7 separate regions of the Homo sapiens genome follow, and all the other regions are linked to region 4. The links are contacts of gene promoters, found by promoter capture Hi-C in blood cells and fetal thymus (Javierre and others, 2016). All regions are on one chromosome and are shown on one strand. Each heading gives the region's core, a stretch centred on a gene start or on the middle of the fragment in contact. The rest is flanking DNA. Distances are from core to core; before and after follow the strand shown. Region 1 overlaps SLC24A3 (solute carrier family 24 member 3). Region 2 overlaps SLC24A3 (solute carrier family 24 member 3). Region 3 overlaps SLC24A3 (solute carrier family 24 member 3). Region 4 holds the start of SLC24A3 (solute carrier family 24 member 3). Region 5 overlaps SLC24A3 (solute carrier family 24 member 3). Region 6 overlaps SLC24A3 (solute carrier family 24 member 3). Region 7 overlaps SLC24A3 (solute carrier family 24 member 3).

The links. Contacts are between HindIII fragments. The CHiCAGO score rates a contact against its expected background, and 5 or more counts as called.
Region 1: a fragment that was not itself captured here is called in contact with the fragment with the promoter of SLC24A3 in region 4 in 12 of 17 cell types (megakaryocytes, M0 macrophages, fetal thymus and 9 more); the score reaches 10.9 in megakaryocytes.
Region 2: a contact is called between a fragment that was not itself captured here and the fragment with the promoter of SLC24A3 in region 4, in 5 of 17 cell types (M1 macrophages, M2 macrophages, M0 macrophages and 2 more). The highest score is 11.7, in M1 macrophages.
Region 3: a fragment that was not itself captured here is called in contact with the fragment with the promoter of SLC24A3 in region 4 in 6 of 17 cell types (M2 macrophages, M0 macrophages, megakaryocytes and 3 more); the score reaches 17.5 in M2 macrophages.
Region 5: a contact is called between a fragment that was not itself captured here and the fragment with the promoter of SLC24A3 in region 4, in 4 of 17 cell types (M0 macrophages, M2 macrophages, M1 macrophages and 1 more). The highest score is 7.6, in M0 macrophages.
Region 6: a contact is called between a fragment that was not itself captured here and the fragment with the promoter of SLC24A3 in region 4, in 7 of 17 cell types (M2 macrophages, M0 macrophages, M1 macrophages and 4 more). The highest score is 7.8, in M2 macrophages.
Region 7: a fragment that was not itself captured here is called in contact with the fragment with the promoter of SLC24A3 in region 4 in 3 of 17 cell types (M0 macrophages, megakaryocytes and M1 macrophages); the score reaches 7.8 in M0 macrophages.

What each region holds. Positions count from the first base shown.
Region 1 is chr20:19,652,168-19,655,037 of GRCh38, reverse strand. SLC24A3 (solute carrier family 24 member 3) reads right to left here. Exons shown (of 17, transcript NM_020689.4): 7 at 902-976. Among named protein-coding and RNA genes, the nearest start is that of RIN2, 100 kb to the left of the region's middle. The HindIII fragment of the contact is 6,105 bases long and covers 1-2,870 here.
Region 2 is chr20:19,613,632-19,616,770 of GRCh38, reverse strand. The region is part of intron 6 of SLC24A3 (solute carrier family 24 member 3); the gene reads right to left. Among named protein-coding and RNA genes, the nearest start is that of RIN2, 140 kb to the left of the region's middle. The HindIII fragment of the contact is 451 bases long and covers 1,314-1,764 here.
Region 3 is chr20:19,562,701-19,565,919 of GRCh38, reverse strand. All of the region lies in intron 3 of SLC24A3 (solute carrier family 24 member 3), which reads right to left. Among named protein-coding and RNA genes, the nearest start is that of RIN2, 190 kb to the left of the region's middle. The HindIII fragment of the contact is 3,670 bases long and covers 1-3,219 here.
Region 4 is chr20:19,210,833-19,214,015 of GRCh38, reverse strand. SLC24A3 (solute carrier family 24 member 3) reads right to left here and starts at 1,374. Exons shown (of 17, transcript NM_020689.4): 1 at 1,032-1,374. The coding sequence starts at 1,173. It overlaps LOC101929547 (a long non-coding RNA gene), which reads left to right and starts at 1,548. Exons shown (of 3, transcript XR_007067549.1): 1 at 1,548-2,387. RefSeq lists a silencer at 974-1,023. The HindIII fragment of the contact is 7,870 bases long and covers 1-3,183 here.
Region 5 is chr20:19,532,252-19,535,104 of GRCh38, reverse strand. The region is part of intron 3 of SLC24A3 (solute carrier family 24 member 3); the gene reads right to left. Among named protein-coding and RNA genes, the nearest start is that of RIN2, 220 kb to the left of the region's middle. The HindIII fragment of the contact is 823 bases long and covers 971-1,793 here.
Region 6 is chr20:19,677,330-19,680,349 of GRCh38, reverse strand. The region is part of intron 9 of SLC24A3 (solute carrier family 24 member 3); the gene reads right to left. Among named protein-coding and RNA genes, the nearest start is that of RIN2, 79 kb to the left of the region's middle. RefSeq lists enhancers at 787-1,763, 1,764-2,742. The HindIII fragment of the contact is 4,096 bases long and covers 1-3,020 here.
Region 7 is chr20:19,632,892-19,635,917 of GRCh38, reverse strand. The region is part of intron 6 of SLC24A3 (solute carrier family 24 member 3); the gene reads right to left. Among named protein-coding and RNA genes, the nearest start is that of RIN2, 120 kb to the left of the region's middle. The HindIII fragment of the contact is 4,252 bases long and covers 1-3,026 here.

The sequences.
Region 1 (2,870 bases), core at 310-2,809, 440 kb before region 4:
ATCTCATTCCCAGTCTGTGGCTACGATAGGAACGAGGACTGAAATATATAGAAAGGCAAGTCCTGGGGAAAACATCAAAAGTCTATTTAGGGACTGGGTGCTGTGGCTCATGCCTGTAAACCCAGCAGTTTGGGAGGCTGAGACGGGCAGATCACTTGAGGTCAGGAGTTTGAGACCAACCTGGCCAACATGGTGAAACCCCATCTCTACTAAAATACAAAAATTAGCCAGCCGTGGTGGTGCACGCCTGTAGTCCCAGATACTTGGCAGGCTGAGGCAGGAGAATCATTGGGACCCGGGAGGCGGAGCTTGCAGTGAGCCAAGATCACTCCACTGCACTCCTGCCTGGGCAACAGAGTGAGACTCTATCTCAAAAAAAAAAAAAAAAAAAAAAAAGGATTCTATTTAGGGACATGTTGAGTTGGGGCATGGAGATGTCTAGTAGAGAGTTCTTTATCCACCACTGGACCTCAGGGAGGTGTCACTGCTAAGTGACATGTGTGGGTGTTGGCACAAAGGTGGCCACGGTAATGGGCTCTGTGGGAGGGCAGGGAGTCCTGGCAGAGCATACAGAGTGAGAAGGGGGAGAAGTGATGTCCAAAGCTAGGGACGCCAATGAAGCGACAGAAGAGCCATGCTCACGAGGGTCTCAGGAGAACAGCCATGGACTCTCATAGACCCAGATAACCCAAGTCTAAATGCCGGCTCTGACCAGCAATTGGTCAGGCTGGAGTTCTGGGTGATCAAAGTAGCTGAAAGAAATAAATCTGCCTCCAAGCAAAGACATGCATCTCGCACTCGCCACCGGTGACCTCGAGTGAACTCCATGTGGAGGAGCCTCACACCACCCCTGGTGCTTAAAAGAGCACTGATGGGAGCTGAAATGGCCAGAGTGACTCACCACGATGAGCGCGATCACAGACAGCGTGTAGTAAATAGAATCCCTCAGCAGGCACCAGGAGGAAAGAGCCACAACCTGCAGGACAAGGGAAACAAAGTCAAACAGGATATAGACTGTACAAATGAGATGGCGGGACTCTTGCAGGTTTAGCCAGCTTCCTGTCTAGGCCTCCTGTCCTGCACCCAATCTGCCAATCAATCGGAATTTATTCAAGTATTTAGGCATATTAGTCTGGATCTTCTGAGAGGCAGACATGAAGATACAATTAAACCTGCAACAATTTTGTTAGCGGGAAACAACTGGTGATAGAAAATGGGGCATCGGGGGAGCTGGGCATGCAGCCTGTCCAACTGTGATGCGGGTCTGACCCCCGTGGAGACAGGGATGGTTGGGTGCACTGTCCTAGCTGGCACGCAGTCTGAGGAAGGTGCAGTGAGGCCCAGGGAACCCTCAATGCAAAGTTGCCTATCAGAGGAGTCTCACATCCCCCCAGGAACGGGCCTGCCTTGACATCCCTAATATCAAGGGGATAGGAGGAGCAATCCTAACCTGTGCCTTTGCCATGAGTCTAGCGTCTGCTACAGCCTGTCTTGCCCCGTGGAGTGAGCAACATGTGCTGGGCTGCTGCCGCCCTTCAGAAGGGGTGTGGACAAGCCTGTCTCTGCCAGACCTTCTTCCCTCATCTCTATTATATGCCTGGCCTTGCTGGCATTTGACCTCGGTTTAATCAGAATCTTTGAAAGATTGATTTGCATACTGATCCAGGGGAAAATGTTCTTGGCATTTGGAGATAGCCCTTTTTAAAGAGATGCTGGCTCTGCTGACACGAAGCTGATAGGCACATTGCTGGAGGCTAAAGCAGCCTTTCCCTGCAAGAGGAGGGGGCTGCTAGGTGCAAAGAAGGGCAGAGGAGCCAGGGCTGGAGGTGGTCGGGAGAGTTTGAGGAGAGGGGAAAGAGCTGTGGGTGTCAGGTTGAGGCTTCTGTTCTGGAGAAAGAATCATTTCTCCCAGGAAAGTTCTTCTAAGTCTCTTATTAAGGGATATTTAGTATTTTTATCTGTTTACAGTGTAGGTCCACTTTGGCAGACCTTACAAATAAGTCTGGGAGAGTCCACACACCTTGTTCCAAGGGTTGTCACTGGCAAGTCCCTTTCCCTTCCCTAGAGGAGTATCGACTACCCCATGGCCACAGGATGTTTGCCTGGCTACCTTTGCCCTTGGCGTAGTAAGTGAAAAAAGACACAGCACAAGTCAACACTCTCAGCCGTGGCAATGACAGGCACATGCTACACCAAACACAGTGGGAAAAAGGGACCCCAGGGACATGCAATCCCTGAGCCTCTACCCTCCCCGACTGCTGTGCAAGTCTATAAAGATCAGACCAAGTCAAACTAGAGGTTTTCTGGATGCAAATAACATGAAAGGCATGACTTAAATAGGACCATAAATGAATAACAAGGCCAGTCTCTTTCCATTAACGCATTCCCCACTTCCTATATGAACACTTAGTTATTTCCTGTTGCTAATTTTGCCTTATTAGGTGAAGCATTTGCATTTCTAAGTCACACATGACAGGGTTGTCAAGAAGAGAATTCACATCAGAAAAATCATGTTAGAATAAATATAAAGTATTCTTTACCCTTTTTTCATTCTCTCTCAGTACTGTAAACTCTTAGAATCTGTGGTCATCACTCACCATTTATGCAATAGATTAAATTGGACTAAATTGTTCATTTTCCAGCAGGTCATAAAAGGTTGTATTTATTCACTTTATTATAATCAGACAAATGGGCTTAAAACGTGGCAAATATCAATTTTGAATTTCTTTAACACATTACTTGGACTTTTAGTTAACGACGACAGATTGAGTACATACCATTACCGTTCTTGTTATACCGTAACAAGATAATACTAAAGGGTTTTTTCGATCAGGACATAAACCCACAATGCAAAAGGAATAGAAGAGCTG
Region 2 (3,139 bases), core at 290-2,789, 400 kb before region 4:
GAGAGGTGGGAGGCCTACTGACATCCCTAAGGGAGTGGCTCATCATTGCTGGTCGAAACTCCTAAATGGCCCCTAGATCTTCCCATGTCCTCCAGATGATTAGACACTTCCTGGAACCCATTTTCTTGGGGGTGATTTTGACCATGGAAACTTTTCATTCATAGTCCAAGTGCCTACTGTTTGGGTGGCCCCAGCATTGGTGGGCAGATCTAGGTTAGCCGTCTCAGATGGACAGTTGGCCTGAGAACTGGGAGGTCACAGCATTTGTTAAAAAATTGTCAAGCACTCACCCCACCTCCCCTAACATGTTGTCCCCTGCCTAAGTGTTTGTGAGTGTTCAGAGGTCCTGAATGACTCTGTCTAGAGGGCTGTAAAGCACACGTGGCAGGCATGGAGAGGTGACACACAAACTCCCTGCAAGGAAGGATCTGCTGTCCAGCTGCAGAGGGATGTGGCCATCAGGTGGCTTCAAGCTGTTGGCTCCACTGGGCTGGGTCAGCCTCAGCTGCAGAGAGCTACCTCGCCCACATCACACCCTTCCTGGAAGGCCCACATCCACTGACACAGAGGCAGTGGTATACATTCCTGGCAGTTTGGTTCCAGGATGAACCATATTTGTTCCAGAACTCTTTGTCAGCTTGGCTGGGACTCTGGTGAGCCTGCATCATGGCTTGACTTCATCTTCCTCTCCTTTCCTTTCACAGGCATTGTATTAGTTAGGGGTCTCAGAGGGACAGCACCAATAGGATCTATGTACCTATAGAAGGAGTTTATTAGGGAGAATTGGCTCAGATAATTACAAGGTGAAGTCCCACCATAGGCTGTCTGCAAGCTGGGGAAGAGAGAAGCCAGTAGTGGCTCAGTCTGAGTCCAAAAGCCTCAAAAGCAGGGAAGCCAACAGTGTAGCCTTCAGTCTGTGGGCAAAGGTCTGAGAGTCCCCAGGAAGCCACTGGTGCAAGTCTCAGAGTCCAAAGGCCAAAGAACCTGGAGTCTGATGTCCAAGGGCAGGAGGAACAGAAGCAAGGGTCCAGTGTGGGAAGAATAAAAGAGCCAGAAGACTCAGCAAGCAAAGCTATCCCCTCTTGTTCTGCCTGTTTTGTTCTGGTGCTGGTAGCTGATTGGAACATGGGAGTGGATTTCTCATGAATGGTTTAGCATCATCCGTTTGGTGCTGTTCTCGTGATAGTGAGTGAATTTTTTAGAGATCTGGTTGTTTGAAAGTGTGTAGCACCTCCTGCCTTGCTCTCTCTTGCTCCTGCTCTGGCCGTGTGATATGCCTGCTTTCCCTTCACCTTCCGTCACCATTGTAAGCTTCCTGAGGCCTCTCCAGAAACAGAACAGATGCCAGCATTATGTTTCCTGTACAGTCTGCAGAATGCGAGCCAATTAAAACTATTTTCTTTATAAATTACCCAGTCTCAGCTATTTAGTTATAGCAATTTGAGAATGGACTAACATAGGTATTGATTAAAAAATATCTTGCACTCAAAACTCTGTCTTCGTGTCTGCTTCCAGAGAACCCAACTGGTGACAGCATTTAATTAATTCATTTACAACTTCCGGACTCTGATTTGATCCCTCCATGATATATATATTTTTAAATGACTCTCCTCTTCCCCCACCAAAAACATAAGAAAATCTGAACCAAATAACAACAAAACCAATGGGAGAAGGAATCAAACCACTTGGTGGTTAAGATGCTTTACCCTTACAGATCTGTTTAAGGATGAAGCTAAAGACCACATAGTCTGTAAAATTAAAGCTTAAAAGATTACGGCTTTAACAAAAAGATTATGGTTTGGATGATGAGCAAACAGAAGAGATTCACTAATCACAGTGCACACATACCCACACACACACGTCCCACCAGCAAATTTCAATTTGGGTTGTTAAACGCTAACCCAGTGGATCATTCATCTTCCTTCTAATCCAGCCTCATTATTGATTACCAGTCTTAGTGTTCTTAGCAGAGTGATCCAGGTCAAGGATCCACTTAGGAAAAGAGGCAAAGTCACAGCAGCTGTAGAGTCAGTGGCATTTTAACTTGAATCCACATGGCAACAACAGAGGCCTCAGTGTCACCGAGTGCACTCTCCCAACGCTACAATTTGGGCTGCGTCTTTGGTTAATAAGAACCTGCTGTGCAATGGCACTTGCTCTTCCAGTGCCCACAGTCCATCTTTGTGGCCCAGAATAACATGTGCTAAGTGGGCAAGAACGGTGGAATGGGATCCAAAGCGATCTTTGCCAGGTTCTGTGGTAAAAACTAATATCTGGAGGAAGGAGAATCAATGGGCCTGTGGCACTAAGGGACAGCTTCCAGGAGAGGATGGGCTGGGGCCCAGCCCTGCATGAAGCACATTCTAGGAGAAAGATATTGCATGTCCAAGAGCATAATAACAGGTCATTTTTACTGAGTACTTTCTATATAGCTGGTGCCATTCTAAGTACTCTGAGTGTATTAACTCATTTAGTTAATGCAATTACTCCATGAGGTAAAGCTATTATTATTAATCCATTTTACAGTTGAGGAAACTGAGGCACAGAGAATTTAATTAATTTGCTCAACTTCATACAGATAGCAAATGGTAAAGATAGATTTTAGTCCCAACAGTCTGGCTGTAAATCTCAAGCTCTTAATCACACTCTCAATTGCAATCTCTTAAAGATTCCAGATGCAAACTGTCCCACCCTCATCACACTGTTGAAACTGCTCATCAGATCTGTGGATATACACAACTGGGAGGCAGAGCCAGCCCCCGCATAAGAGAATCAAGATTTAAAAGGATGTCAACAGTCTGCGCCAGGACAAACAAGGGTGGTGTAAGCGGGTTGAACGCAAAGAATTTCACATCTTAATATAGAACAGGGTGGTGCATGGGAAAAATACATGGAGACTGGAGCTGTTCAAACATTCCCATGAGTCAAGGGTGAGCATCAACAGCTACGCAAACCAAGGAAGCCTTCATCTGGGTGAAAAGGTTTTTCATGTGATGGGGAAGAGGTGGGCATCTCTCCATGCTCAGCATTGTTCATTACACTTCTAGAGAATAATATCCTCCAGGTCTGGGTCCCACTCTGTAATGGAGACATTGGCCATGCGTGAACATCCCAAGGAGGAACAGGTGTCTTGAGGCCA
Region 3 (3,219 bases), core at 221-2,720, 350 kb before region 4:
ATGAGTAAACTTATGTTTGGAGGAAATAAGAAAGATGCCCGATTTACAGAGTCAGCATTCATCCAAATTTAGTGCCACATGACTTCAAAGCCCCTGATCTGAATCATACAGCCTCCACTCTCAGTAGACTCCAGGCACTGAAGATGCAGAATTCCCTACCTGTCTGGTCACCATCCCATTCATTCATTCATTTAAAGGTGCCATTTAGTGTGAGAGGGAAATTGGCTCTCAGGTGATAGGAATCAATACAAGGAAAAAGGCTCCGAGGTCTTGGTTGGGTTGCTCAGAAGTAGACCCTCAGATAAGAGTCCATATGCAATGGGGGACCAATAAGGTAGTGGCAAAGGCAAGACAAGGAAGAAGCAGCAGCCAATGAGGGGTGTGATGCCAGGTGACACCTCAGCCTTAGCCTCACCTGCACAGAATGTGGATTGCACCACAGAACTTGAGGCAAAGCAGCTGGACTTTCCTACTACTATACCAATCAATCATTGGTTATTTGACCCCCCACCCCCCGAGAACACAAATTCCCAGGTCGTTCTCACTCTCAGTGCCTCCTGGTGAAGTGGCTCTAGTAGCCTAAGGTAGTTCATTGAAGGTTGTAGGGGTGAAACATTCGTAGCAAAGCACACAGAGCTGCTGGATAGACACACAAACAAGGAAAGAGAATTCATGTGGATCTAATGGAGCCCCAATATATCTTCTACATATGTAAGCGGAGCCTTTGAAATTAAAGCTAAACCTAGACTTACTGGATTCCACAAACCCACAGAGGAGGGACACCTAACCTAGGTCTTAGAGAATGAGAGGATGGAAGCCGGGTGTGTTGGCACACGATGTAATCCCAGCACTTTGGAAGACTAAGGTGGGTGGATCACCTGAGGTCAGGAGTTCAAGACTAGCCTGGCCAACATGGTGAAACCCCATCTCTACTGAACACAAAAATTAGCCAGCAGGGTGGCGCATGCCTGTAATACCAGCTACTTGGGAGGCTAAGGCAGGAGAATTGCTTGAACCCAGGAGGCAAAGGTTGCAGTGAGCTGAGAGTGAGAAGATAATATGGTAGGATTATCTGGAAGAATTGATACCTACATAACATCTGAGAAGATGAACAGGCATTAGCCATTAGGAAGGAAGTGGCAAGGGAACAGAATGAGTAAAAGCATGGTGTCAAAAATTAATGTGGTTTATCTTGAAAACTACAAATTATTCACTGTTGCTAGTATGTAGATTGTGTATGAGGGAGCACAAACAGATGAGACTGGAGGAACAGGTAAAGTTCATTCTAGGAAGGACCATGCTACTTGGATGTATAAGTTCAGGTTATCTGTCTTGAACAGGAATCACTGCTGACTCCACTAGATGAACCTTATCTGATGGTGATAATGAATGAGGTTTTGACAGTAGTGGTGATGATGATGGTGACGATAGTGATTGTGATATGATGATGGTGGAGACAAGGATGATGAAGTTGATCACGGTAATGGTGATGAGGAGGAGATGGTGATCACGATGACAAAGATGTTGGTGATGATGATAGTGATGATGGTGGCATTGATGATGGGACTTCAATCCTGTTTGTGTGACTCCAATCCAAGCCAGAACCCATGAATCTAACCCTGATTGCTTTCAGCAACATGAGAGGAAGCTCAGAATGCCCGTGACCTCTACTGGTTCATCAGATTCTTTCTTCCCTTTTACCCTCTCCCACTTTTCAATGATATTCCCTCCCTACTACTCCTCTAAACCCCAGTGCCATACCCTGTGGGAGTTCTTCTGATCCCAGGTAAACACTGGCTGGCTAGAGGTCCTGTTTGCCAATACTGGGATCTTCCTCTTCAGGCTTACTTGAGAAGTGAGGACAATGACTTCTGTCTAGGTATCTACTGTAAATATTAGATCATTTAAATTTTCTAGAGGCCTTTGAAATTTCAAAACTCATTCAACTGTCTACAAGATGATAGAGCTCTTCACTTCAAGGTTGGTAAGAAACCTACTTCTTGCCTAAAGGTTCTTATTAGTAACCTGAGCCTTTCCGAGGGTTATCACAATAAGGTAGGAATTTTCGTGCCAGTTACAGCAATGTTTATTGCCCAACATTGTGCTTTTAAAAGATACAAGACTGGTTAAAATTATCAAGATTTTTGCATTCTTGCCTTTCTGTCACTTTCTTGTTCTCTCTGCAAACTCAGACTCAGGAGCTGATGGACATTGCTGCTACCAGATAACATCAAACAGTGGAACTGCTGGCCAATCAAGGGCAAGCAACCAGGACTTCCAAAAACAGAATAGGCCTGAGACACAGGACGCCAGCAGGCTCGTAATCTGGCGCCTCTTCAAGCCTATATTCTTTAAATATTTATTCAACATTTATTCTGTGGAGGAGGGAGGAGAAAACTAATCTTCTATTAATAAAAAAGTGTGTATAGAAATAAGCCTCTTACTAATTCATTTCCCCTGGCACAAGCATAGTCAATATTCTGCAAACAATTCTGCAAAATATCTCCCATTTTCCTTTCATTGTTATTTTCTTTCAAGTTTCTTTTGTATGTTTCTCAAGCAGGCAACTTCTTGTGGGTGTATTTGAAGTTTTAATATTTAATATTTAGACAGTGAACACATTTTATTTAACTTGGGTAGCTACCACACACTGTTGAATTTTAAAATCTCAGCTGGCGGGGACAATGTGAGCACCTATGAGATATATGTTATATGCATATTTAGGCTAGCAATAGCAGAAGAAAAAAAGATCCTTCAGGTAGAGGGGATGGCTTTTTGTCTTCAGTTGTGCGGATTAATTTGTCTTCAGTTGTATAATAACTTCTGTCACGTGGAGATCCAAGTTAAGCAACACCATATTTCCAGTTTATTATAATGATGTTTGAGTGCCCATTGTAGATTGGCACCCTGAGAAGGTGCTCAGGGGGTCACCCTACAATCTAGCTTTGTGCACCCAGCTGCTGAAAGCCATAGTAAGATTCCCAGGTTGGGACCATTTCTTTAACTGCCTCTCTATACTGTATCCTATTGCCAGAACTGACCTAATCCCATAGGATGTGTTCCTGGAGTGGAATATGATTTCTCATTAGCGGTGATGGGCCAACTAGGTCATCCTAGGGTGTCTAGCCAGATCGTTCTCATGATAGGTACAAAGAGCTAACAAGCTGGATGGCAGTGGGTTAGGGGCCCAATCTGAGGCTGTGTGTGTAAATGAACAAA
Region 4 (3,183 bases), core at 125-2,624:
TTAGAGCTACGTCGACCTCAACACCACAGCACATACTTGTAACTGTTTTTTTGTTTGTTTGTTTTGTTTTGTTTTGTTTCTTTCTCACAACCCTTTACATGGCTGTTTTCCCACTAATCGTGCCACTTCCACGGCCGGGATATAAAACCATTTTACAACAGTTATTCTCCCATGTTTTTCCTTCATTTTATAGACAGCTGAATCCCAGGATCGAAGCTGTTTCAGCAGACAACTGTTGGGAGCACACAAGATCTATTTCAGCTCAAGAAAGGCCAAGGACAAAGACAAGACAAAAGTTGTGGGTTAAAGGGCAGACTTTGCGCAGAGCACCGGTAGAGGAGCGGACAGTGTGATGCGTGGTCCACTGCAAACCATTTCTTCCACAGCAGCAGCTCTGCAAAAGGGACCTCTGAGGAAGAATTCCCTGTCTTCCCAGTGAGTGGTCATTTTAGGAGAACAAGTCCCCTACTAGCCCATAGCTGGAGGGCCAACACTTTTTCTCTCCCTGAAGTTCCCGGCACCTGTTCTGAAAGGGGGTTGAAGAGCTCTCTACTCGGGCCATCCCGCCTGCTCTCTGGATGGAGAACATACGGACAACTGTGTGTTAAGCAGTCCCCTTGAATCCTTCAGCAAGCCAAGGAGTATACAGGTGGTCACCTGCACAGGTGCCGGGTCTACCACCACAACTTTATCCCTGGCCTTGGGGGCTGATGGAGAGTAAGACTCCCCACCACCGCCACCAGCAGTACCTCCAGCTCGCGAGTAAGCAGCGCACAGGCGGGCACAGGTAAATGTTCCCAGGGCGGCCAGACGCCTAAGCCTGCTGGCTGCTGGCGCTCAGGGTCCCCACCTCCATGCCTCTGCGTGGGGCAGGGGGAGTCCTCGTGCCTGGCATCCCACTCCCCCCGCCAACCCAGCCCGCTTATCCTGGGGCTCCGGCCGGGCCGCCCGAAGGAGCCCCGCGCCCAGCCCCGGGAGCCCCGAGCCGCCGGAGCCGCAGCGCCCACTCGGGGCAGGCAGCGTGCACTCACCCTTCTGCTCTCGCAGGCTCGACAGCGACCAGAGCAGCAGCGCCACCGAGGCCAGGAAGCAGAGCTGGCTCAGCAGAAGGTCCCTCCGGCGGCGGCGGCGGCGGCGGCGACGCGCGCGGTCCTCGTCGCCGGACGGCCGCATCCTCGGGCGGCCGGGCGGCGGCCTCGGCGGGCGGCGGCCGCTCCTGTCGCGGGCGGCCGCGGCGGGGACAGCGGCAGGAGGCAGCCCTGCGCGCAGCAGCCGCGCGTCCTCGCTGCGCTCCCACCCGGCCGCCGCCTCCGCCTCCTCTTCCTCCTCCTCGCCGCTGCCCGTCTCCTCGTCGTCGCCCTCCTCGTCGCTATCGCCCAGTCCCTCCTCCCCTCCCTCCTCCTCCTCCTCGCCGCTCGCCCGCGCCGCCGCCTCCCGGCGCTCGGGGTCCCGCTCCTCCTCGCGCGCCATGGCTCCCACGCTCCGCGCCCGCGCTCGGCCTGGGGCGGCGGCGCGGCGGGGGCGGCGGGGGCGGCCGGGAGGCGGGGGCGGAGGGGGCAGAGGAGGAGGAGCGGGGAAGGACCGACGGTAGGAGGGCCCGCCGCTGGCCAACTCCGCCGGTTGGCAAAGCCACCCCGGACTGGCTCTGGCCTCGCCGGCTGCAGGAGCGCCTCGCGGGGCCGCCCGCCTATTCCATGGTCGGCGCGATGGGGGCCGGGGCCGGGCCGGAGCGAACAGGGAGCACCGAGCGAGCTGGGAGCATGAGCTAGCGCAGCTCCCGGCAGCCTGCAGCGGCGAGGCTGGTCGGGCCAGGGTTGGCGGGGGGCAGTGCCTGGGACACAGCCCGGCGCTGGCCGGCATGGCGGGGAGGGGGCGCGCTGGGAGGAGACTGGGCTGGGGAGGGATCCCTGTGTGCAGTCCTTCAACCCTTCTGTGCCAGGGGAAGAGGGACGGCGCAGGGGGCCCCCTCTCGGGAAGCACACACGCTGCCTCCCAGAGGCCGATCTTCACCAAGAAGGATTCGCTGGAAACTTTCGGAAAACCGAGGGGCTCTTCAGCCTCCTCTCTACGTGCTACCTGGAGTCGGGGCGCCGCGAGTGCGCTTGGCTGCCCGCGCCCAGCCTCTGGCCTCGCCTCTTCTCGCGGGCCTCCCGGGTTTCCCTCTGCCCCCTTGCGGGGATCCCCCTGTGCGCCCGACTCGGGATCTGGAACAGGCCTCCCCAGAGGCTGTTAGTTCCATAAGGGTGTCCGGCTCCCCCCTCTGTCTTGGGCTCACACTTCGCTTTCTGTTCGTGCTGGACCAAGTCCAATACTGTGGCTGATCGAAGTGGGGACAGCTGGCACGGTCCCTGGAGAGGCGGCCTGAAGAGGCTTCTGGCCTTGTGCAGGTAACACCAGCCTGCCCTACCTCCAACGTTAGAATCTTAGTCCTCCCATTTCCCCCATTCTAGGTCTCCTGCCCCTCCTTGCTGAAGGTGTGGGCTGCCCTAGAGATGGCTGGACTCACGACCTGCCGCAGGTGCCCATTTGGAGGGGATCCCTGGCCATCCCAGACACAGCCCACTCTCCCTCATTGGGCTTCCCTGGACTCTTCCCAGATGCTAGCCTGGGGCTGCTGGCTGGGCTGAGGAGGAGATGCCATTGTTGGGGCGGAGGGTGGGGGGGCGCTGAAAACAAAAGACCTTGTCCAGAAAGGGATCACCTGAAACCAGGTGTCTGTCTAGGTGACTGTCTCCATGGAATCCATTCAGATCAGGGAATCTAGCTTCATACCCTAAGGAGGTGGGAAGGAAGCAGAGAACCTCTGTATAAGGCTCCCCTGTCTAGGTCTGTTCAAATGTGTCCCCACCTGTGACTGACCTACCCCCCCCGACCTCCTCCCAGACAATCCCTGACAGCGCCCGGGGACAGCAAGGTCACAGCAAAGGGCAAAGGAAGTGGTTATAGGTGGCCTCCTTTCCAGAGAAAGGCCATCTCACCCAGGGAGACCAGAGACTTTTCCTTTGTGGGTATATCATTTATGACTGCTGTTCTCAGCCTGGCATCTTCCAGACACTCAGAGTACCTCCCCCACAATGCCTGAGTGGTTTTCCCTTTGCTTTGGCTGCAGATACTAAGGAGGGTGTAAAAATACGAGTTCATCCGTGCTGGAGTGTGTGGGGAGAATTCTCTAGTTGTGTTATC
Region 5 (2,853 bases), core at 133-2,632, 320 kb before region 4:
AAAGTAGAATTCTTTCCAAACTCCTGTAAAATACTCTGTTAAAAAGAGTTCTGTGGTCAATTTTGAAAACCCAGCTATTACACTTCCTTTGTGCAGAATCATGGCCCAAATTAGCATATTTAAAGTTTGTGAGAAACCCTGCATTTAGAAAATACATAGTAAGTTAGCATTTCTTAAACACTTGATTAAGAGATCCTCATTTTCTATACAATACCTATACAATACCTATCATTCTTTCACTAGTGTCCTGAGAAAACAGTTTGGAAAATGCTGGTCTAGATCTACAAATAAGCCTTGGTTTCCAATCTGTACCTTATACACTTGCTAAGGAGCCTCAACTTACTAAAGCAGTCAGGGGTCTCTACACATAGATGTAGGAATAGCTAAAAATACTTTTTGGGGCCAGGCATGGTGGCTCAGGCCTGTAATTCCAGTACTTTGGGAGGCAGGTGGATCACGAGGTCAGGAGCTTGAGACCAGCCTGACCAACATGGGGAAACCTTGTCTCTACTAAAAATACGAACAAATTAGCCAGGCGTGGTGATACATGCCTGTAATCCCAGCTACTCAGGAGGCTGAGGCAGGAAGATCACGTGAATCTGGGAGATAGAGGTTGCAGTGAGCCAAGATCGTGCCACTGCACTCCAGCCTGGGTGACAGAGCGAGACTCCGTCACAAAACAAAACAAAACAAAAAAACAACAACAGAAAAGCCTTTTTGGATGTCAAACAGGACTCTCCACACTTAAAAGAGATTGAGGATTGCCTCTCTTGGTCTCAGATTGCCTGTTGCTTTTTGCAGTTGTACCTGTGAGGCCAGTGGACTGGCCACAGGTAGGCAGGATATAAAACCCTCCCTGGAAAGGGCTGTAATAAAACCAGTGCTGGCTCCAGAGAGTAGACAAACCACACGGCAGTAACTGCCAACATTCTATATTTACAGAAAACTGGCACTTCACAAATACCAAGCTTTGCTATTTATGTAGCTGTTTTTCATCAATATATGTGGGGATTCTGTAATTATCACAAGTGCTATTCAAAGGCTTCCGGAATCTCAGACAAATGAGCATAACAGATAGAGTCAACTGAACCCTGCAAACACCACTGCCCCAGGGCTTCTGTTCTTTTATGCAGCCTTGTTGCTCAGATGAGAATGAAGAACCAGGACAGGGCTAAGGCCAAAGCTACAACAAGGCTTTATCCCGGTAGCTCTTCTTTTGAGATGTGGGACAGCTGGGGGAAGGCAGCTGGTCTACCTGTCTTCATCTACTCCATCTTACAGCCAGCAAAATCTTTCCAAGATATAGATATGGTTGGGTCAACTCCTTGCTTGATCAAATCCCCTTAATGGCTTTCAATGCTGCTGGGATAAAATCTAAACTCCTTAGGCACTGGAGACCCTCAAAGATCTAAGTCTCTCTCCTGCCCAAGCTCTTGCCATCTCCCATCTTGACCCAACCATGCCAGCCACAGTGAGTGCCCTATATTTATAAGCACAGGTGCTTGGTGTTCTCTCTCCCCTCTGCCTCTGCATAGTGTCTCGCTGCCTGGGATACCCTTCCTTGACCCCTTCACCTGGCTCCACATAGGTATTGCCTCTTCTTCTAAGGTTGCTGTGGCAGATGGTTTTCAAAGACGGCCATGGAATTATCACTGCATCCCACCTGCTCTTCTGCAGTGTGACCTTGCAACTCCTCTTACATCTGGGCATGCGGGAGTGATGGTGGGCCAGTTTCAGGGGTAGCCACGAAATACCCAGCAGCCCCTGCTTTCTGCCTCTTGGAGATTCAAGCTTCTGCGTAAACCATTCAGCCTCCTCTGTTAGAGAGAGAAGCCACCTGGAGAAGCATAGAGACACTAGCTGTGTGAATGGGGCCATCATGGATGTTCAGCCCCATAGAGCATTCACATGACTTTAGCTCCAGCTGTTGTCTGACTGCAAGTGCATGAGAGACCTGAAGCAGGAGCCACCCAGCTGAGTGCAGTCAACCGATAGACCCAGGACTGATAACAAATTGTTTTAATCCATTAAATACTGGGTGTTTTGTAATGCAGCAGTAGATATCCAGAAAGGTAGCTCATGCTGTGCCCAAGAAGAATCAGGCAGTTCTGAAATTCAGCTAATATGTGTTGGTTTGGCTGAACTGGATGTTGACAGCTGATATCTGTCTGCTTGATCAGCGTCTCTGTTGCCTCCAGTTATTAAATATCTTGAATGACATCCCAATCAGGGGGCTGCCAATGTGCTCTCTCAATAGCCTGTGCTGACCTCTTTATACCAATTAATATCCTATCTTTCAGCTGTGGCAAGTTACCCTACTTCTGTGACTTTCAGGTCTCTATGGTACCTAGCTCTGAGGGTTGCCAGGGTGGAATAAGACGGTGTGTGGAACACCGAGCACAGTGTCTGGTGCAAGTGCTCCATGGGCAGAGTCTTTCAGCTCTGAACGTGTCACCTACCACTGAGCTCCCCATTCTGCAGACACTCAGGAGTGCTTGCCAAAGGTAGCAAAACGGATGCTTGGTTTTGATCCTCTGTTGTCTGCCCTTTTCCAGAAGATGAACTCAGGTGAATGGCTTGATGGGAGGCTCTGCCATAGCTACCCCAGGAATTCTCCTCCAGGAGAGACAGCCGGGCTCATTTCCAAGATGGGGCCCCACTGTGGTGGTGACTCCATGAACCACAGTGGACTTGGGCACCAGAGGCTGAGACAGTCCTGGGGATGCAATGCCCCTTGTGGATGAGGGAGCAGTGAGGGCAGACCCAAGCACTCAGGGGTCTGGACATGGAGGGCTGCGGGGCCTTCCGCAAGTATCCAGCCCTGCTTTGTGCTTGACTTGAGGCTGGCTGATT
Region 6 (3,020 bases), core at 3-2,502, 470 kb before region 4:
GATCAATTACAGACATATAGGAAACACATAGGCCAAGGGAACAGATTGCACCACAGCATGGGATATAATCAACAGTTTCCAACCATGGGCAACTCTGCAGAGCAAACAGCCAAACTTCATCAAAGAACAAAGTGCAAGGAAAATGCACACACACACACATGCACATACAGACACACAGAGACACACAGACACACACAGACACACACAGAGACACACACAGACACACACACAGACACAGACACACACTCGCACACACAGACACATACAGACACACACACAGACACACAGCACACAGACACACACAGATGCCCAGTCATGCACACACATACACACACAGACAACACACAGACACAGAGGCCAAGGGAACAGACTGTGCCACATCATGGGATATAATCAACGCTTTCCAACCGTGGGCAACTCTGCAGAGCAAACAGCCAAACTTCATTAAAGAACAAAGTGCAAGGAAAATGCACACACACACATGCACACACATACAGACACAGCAGCAAGTCATGGGCCACCAATTCTAATGAGTGGAATTTATTTGAATTCTCATTTTTAAAATATTTATGATATTTATGAAACTAAAAGAAAACAATGAAAAAGACATTTGTGAGGCCACTGAAAATTTGAACATTAGGTATTTTATGATATTAAGGAATTAGTATTAATTTTACGTATGACGATAATGTGGTTATGTTAAAGAAAATAGTCCTTTTAGAATCCTAAAAGAGTGAGTCTCCCTCTCCCTCTCCCTCTCCCCACGGTCTCCGTCTCCGTCTCCCTCTCCCTCTCCCTCTCCCTCTCCCCCTCCCCACGGTCTCCCTCTCCCCACGGTCTCCCTCTCCGTCTCTTTCCACGGTCTCCCTCTGATGCCGAGCCGAAGCTGGACTGTACTGCTGCCATCTCGGCTCACTGCAACCTCCCTGCCTGATTCTCCTGCCTCAGCCTGCGGAGTGCCTGCGATTGCAGGTGCGTGCCGCCACGCCTGACTGGTTTTCGTATTTTTTTGGTGGAGACGGGGTTTCGCTGTGTTGGCCGGGCTGGTCTCCAGCTCCTAACCGCGAGTGATCCGCCAGCCTCGGCCTCCGGAGGTGCTGGGATTGCAGACGGTGTCTGGTTCACTCAGTGCTCAATGGTGCCCAGGCTGGAGTGCAGTGGCGTGATCTCGGCTTGCTACAACCTCCACCTCCCAGCCGCCTGCCTTGGCCTCCCAAAGTGCCCAGAGTGCAGCCTCTGCCCGGCCGCCACCCTGTCTAGGAAGTGAGGAGCGTCTCTGCCTGGCCGCCCATCGTCTGGGATGTGAGGAGCCCCTCTGCCTGGCTGCCCAGTCTGGAAAGTGAGGAGCGTCTCTGCCCGGCCGCCATCCCATCTAGGAAGTGAGGAGCGTCTCTGCCCGGCCTCCCATCGTCTGAGATGTGGGGAGCGCCTTTGCCCCGCCGCTCCGTTTCGGATGTGAGGAGAGCCTCTGCCCGGCCGCGACCCCGTCTGGGAGGTGAGGAGCGTCTCTGCCCAGCCGCCCCATCTGAGAAGGGAGGAGACCCTCCGCCCGGCAACCGCCCCGTCTGAGAAGTGAGGAGCCCCTCCGCCCGGCAGCCGCCCCGTCTGAGAAATGAGGAGCCCCTCCGCCCGGCAGCCACCCCGTCTGGGAAGTGAGGAGCGTCTCCGCCCGGCAGCCGCCGTGTCCGGGAGGGAGGTGGAGGGTCAGCCCCCCGCCCGGGGCCAGCCGCCCCGTCCGGGAGGTGAGGGGCGCCTCTGCCCAGCCGCCCCTACTGGGAAGTGAGGAGCCCCTCTGCCCGGCCAGCCGCCCCGTCCGGGAGGGAGGTTGGGGGGTCAGCCCCCCGCCCGGCCAGCCGCCCCGTCCGGGAGGGAGGTGGGGGGTCAGCCCCCCGCCCGGCCAGCCGCCCCGTCCGGGAGGTGAGGGGCGCCTCTGCCTGGCCGTCCCTACTGGGAAGTGAGGAGCCCCTCTGCCCGGCCAGCCGCCCCGTCCGGGAGGGAGGTGGGGGGGGTCAGCCCCCCGCCCGGCCAGCCGCCCCGTCTGGGAGGTGAGGGGTGCCTCTGCCCGGCCGCCCCTACTGGGAAGTGAGGAGCCCCTCTGCCCGGCCACCACCCCGTCTGGGAGGTGTGCCCAACAGCTCATTGAGAACGGGCCAGGATGACAATGGCGGTTTTGTGGAATAGAAAGGGGGGAAAGGTGGGGAAAAGATTGAGAAATCGAATGGTTGCCGTGTCTGTGTAGAAAGAAGTAGACATGGGAGACTTTTCATTTTGTTCTGTACTAAGAAAAATTCTTCTGCCTTGGGATCCTGTTGATCTGTGACCTTACCCCCCAACCCTGTGCTCTCTGAAACATGTGCTGTGTCCACTCAGGGTTAAATGGATTAAGGGCGGTGCAAGATGTGCTTTGTTAAACAGATGCTTGAAGGCAGCATGCTCGTTAAGAGTCATCACCACTCCCTAATCTCAAGTACCCAGGGAGGCAAACACTGCGGAAGGCCTCAGGGTCCTCTCCCTAGGAAAACCAGAGACCTTTGTTCACTTGTTTATCTGCTGACCTTCCCTCCACTATTGTCCTACGACCCTGCCAAATCCCCCTCTGTGAGAAACACCCAAGAATGATCAATAAAAATAAAAATGAAAATTAAAAAAAAAAAAAAAAAAAAGAAAAAAAAAAGAATCCTAAAAGAGTATCCAGCTGTGTCTAGAGATGTCCAGATGTATACTGGAATTTTTGTGGATGAACTAGTATGATGTCCGGGACTTCAAAATTATAGGAGAAAAGGGAAGTGAATAGGGTGTGGATGGGGCAACTGTGGGTTGATGGTTGCTGGGGGTGGTGACGAATGCATGGGGTTCATCGTACTATTCTGCAGACTCCTGTATATATTCAAAATTCCTGTTAGTGAAAAGGCCTCCACACTTTCTAGATTCGACAAGGATGCCTTGCCCTGTAGAGCGACAGGGAAAGAGGCAGTGTTTCTGTCATCTTGACTTAGACTCCATTTCCCTGAAAGAAATAC
Region 7 (3,026 bases), core at 184-2,683, 420 kb before region 4:
CCACCCATCTCGGCCTCCCAAAGTGCTGGGATTACAGGTGTAAGCCACCGCGCCTGGCCTGATCTTTCTTATTTTCTGGAACATTTACTCTCAGAGCCCTAAGCTGCCATGAAAGTAATCTGATAACCTGAGGCTGCCATGATGTAAGGAGGCCCAAGCCACATAGAGTGAACATACAAAGGTGCTCCAGGTGATAGTCCTAGATGAGCCCAGTCTTCGAGTCACCCCAATCCAGGTGCCAAACATGTGAGTGAAGAATCTTCCAGATGATTCCAGCCCCAGTCATTCACGTCACCTCCAGCTATTCCAGTATTTCCAGTGGAACAGACACAAGCCATCCCTGCTGTGATTTGTCCAAATTCTTGGCCCACAGAATCACTGAGAAGAATTATGTGGTGGTTGTTTTACATAACTAAGTTTGGGGTTGCTAGTTACACAGCAATAGATACCTGATGCACAAAGATTTGTTTAATTAATTACCCTGATTACTCCTTCTTCATCAACCTACTCACACACCAAATTTTCTGATTCTGTGCTTTAAGCTCAGAGAGACCCTCTAGGATTCATGTCCCTCATCCCCACTTCAGCTTTTTCCTGTGTGTGTTTTAGTTTAAGGATTTCCATACTCTGGATCAATACAACCACATCTTATTTCTGTTCTCTAGAAATTCATTAAAAACTCTAGACTACTCTCGCTATGCATTATTGGTATCTGGGCAATGATGGACTCATCCCTCCCCTTTGTGTATCAGGCTGTTATTTCAACGAGCTTGTAGTCAGGGGAGGTAAGTGTCTGTTCTGAGAACCAGCAGTGAGATTCTTCACAGAAAGAGATAGATCCTCTACTCAAGTTGGGTACATTTTACAGCCATCAGTGAGTTAGAAATAGGCTGTGTCTATGACATAGCATGCACAAATATGAAAAATGTAGTCAAATATCTTTTTCCTAAACATACGCACTGTGAAGATAATTAAATTTCTTCTATCTTGGTTGGATGGTGTTTTATTTGTTGATTGGTTTTTAAATAAAATTTTTGCGGTATCATTTATAAGCAGTGAAATTTATTCATATAAGATGTTGTATACCCCTGCAACCATCACCTCAGTCAAGACATAGAGCATTTCTACCACACAGAAAAGTGTCCCCCCCGGCTTCCAGTCAATCACCTCATCTATCCCCACCCAGCTAACCACAGATTGGATTTCTCTCACTGTAGATTAGTTTTCACTGTTCTAGAACTTCATATAAGTGGAATCATACTGTATACTTTTGTGCTTGCTTCTTTCACTCAGCATATTTTTGAGCTTCATTTAAGTTATGTGTATCAATAATTTTCTCTTTTTTATTGTTGAGCACTATTAGATTTGTTCATTGATTTCCCTATTGATAGATATTTGGAATGTTACTGGTTTTGAGGTATTATTATTATTAAAACTGATATGAACATTTTGGGACAAGCCTTTTGATGAACACTGTAGGAGTGCTTTGGATCTATATATTTTAAAGCCCTTTGTTTCCTCCTTAAATGAACTAGAGTCTCCCCAGCAGAATTTCTGGTGGCCGCTGGGCAACTAGCATCTGTAAATGAGAAGATGCTGGCTCCCAGGAGTGGGAGAGAACGAGCTAATCATATCAAAAGTGGTCTGTGAAAATCAAAGCCAGCATTACTGCACTGGAAAAGTTGACTCAGGCATGCTTTGATAATAAGCATTTCAAAGAGATAGGCAGCTTCCCTTTAAATAGCACATAAACACCACTACCATGGAGCACAAGCTGAAAATGCTTCCCCTTTGACTGGCGATGTCTCAGTATTTAGGAATGGCCATGCCTATAAAAATAAATGCTGAGTAGGGAACTTGAAAAGAAATGGAAGGCACAAGAATTTTTTTTCTTATAAACATGTGAACTATTTTATGGCAGATATAGAAAGAGGTGGGAGGGAGTGTTGGACAACTTCCTTTACAAACAGTAACAGCAGCAGCATTTTATTGAATATTTATGATTGCCAGGCATCATTCTAGGGACTTTCCTCTGCATGCTTTAATTAATGTAATTCTCACACAACTCCTTAAGAAGGGTGCTTGTTATGGGGGGAATTGTGCCTTTCCCCCAGCCCAATTCATAAGTTGTGGTCCTAAACCTCAGTACCTCAGAATGTGACTGTATTTGGAGATAGAGTCTTTAAAGAGGGAACTAACTTAAAGTGAGGTCATTAGGTGGACCCTAATCCAATACTACTGGCATTCTTTTTTTTTTTTTTTTTTTTTTGAGACGGAGTCTCGCTCTGTCGCCCAGGCTGGAGTGCAGTGGCGGGATCTCGGCTCACTGCAAGCTCCGCCTCCCGGGTTCACGCCATTCTCCTGCCTCAGCCTCCCAAGTAGCTGGGACTACAGGCGCCCGCCACTACGCCCGGCTAATTTTTTGTATTTTTAGTAGAGACGGGGTTTCACCGGTTTAGCCGGGATGGTCTCGATCTCCTGACCTCGTGATCCGCCCGCCTCGGCCTCCCAAAGTGCTGGGATTACAGGCGTGAGCCACCGCGCCCGGCCACGACTGGCATTCTTATAAGAATGAATTTGGACACAGATATGTACAAGGTGAAGATCATGTGAAGACACAGGGAGAAGACAGCCATCTACAATGCAAGGAGGAAGGCTTCGGAAGAAGTAAACTCTGCCAATACATTGAGCTTGAACTTCTAGCTTTTAGAAATGTGAAAAAATAAATTTTCATTATTTAAACCACCCAGTTTGTGGTATTTTATTATGTCAGCCCTGGCTGACTAAGAATATGCTACATAAAGTTGTCTCCATTTTACAGATGTGGAAAGCCAAAGATCATGGTAAACTGATAAATCTGCACATGCCCAGCAATGGAGCCAGCTGAATGACTCAAAAGTCCATGCTTACATGCATTTTATTAAAAAAACTATTTTTCTCAAGTAGTAAAAATAAAATGGAAAGTTGTCCGTATCTTGTAGGAGCTTACAACTCGCTGTGAAGGCAAATTTCTGCATAGGAGGCAA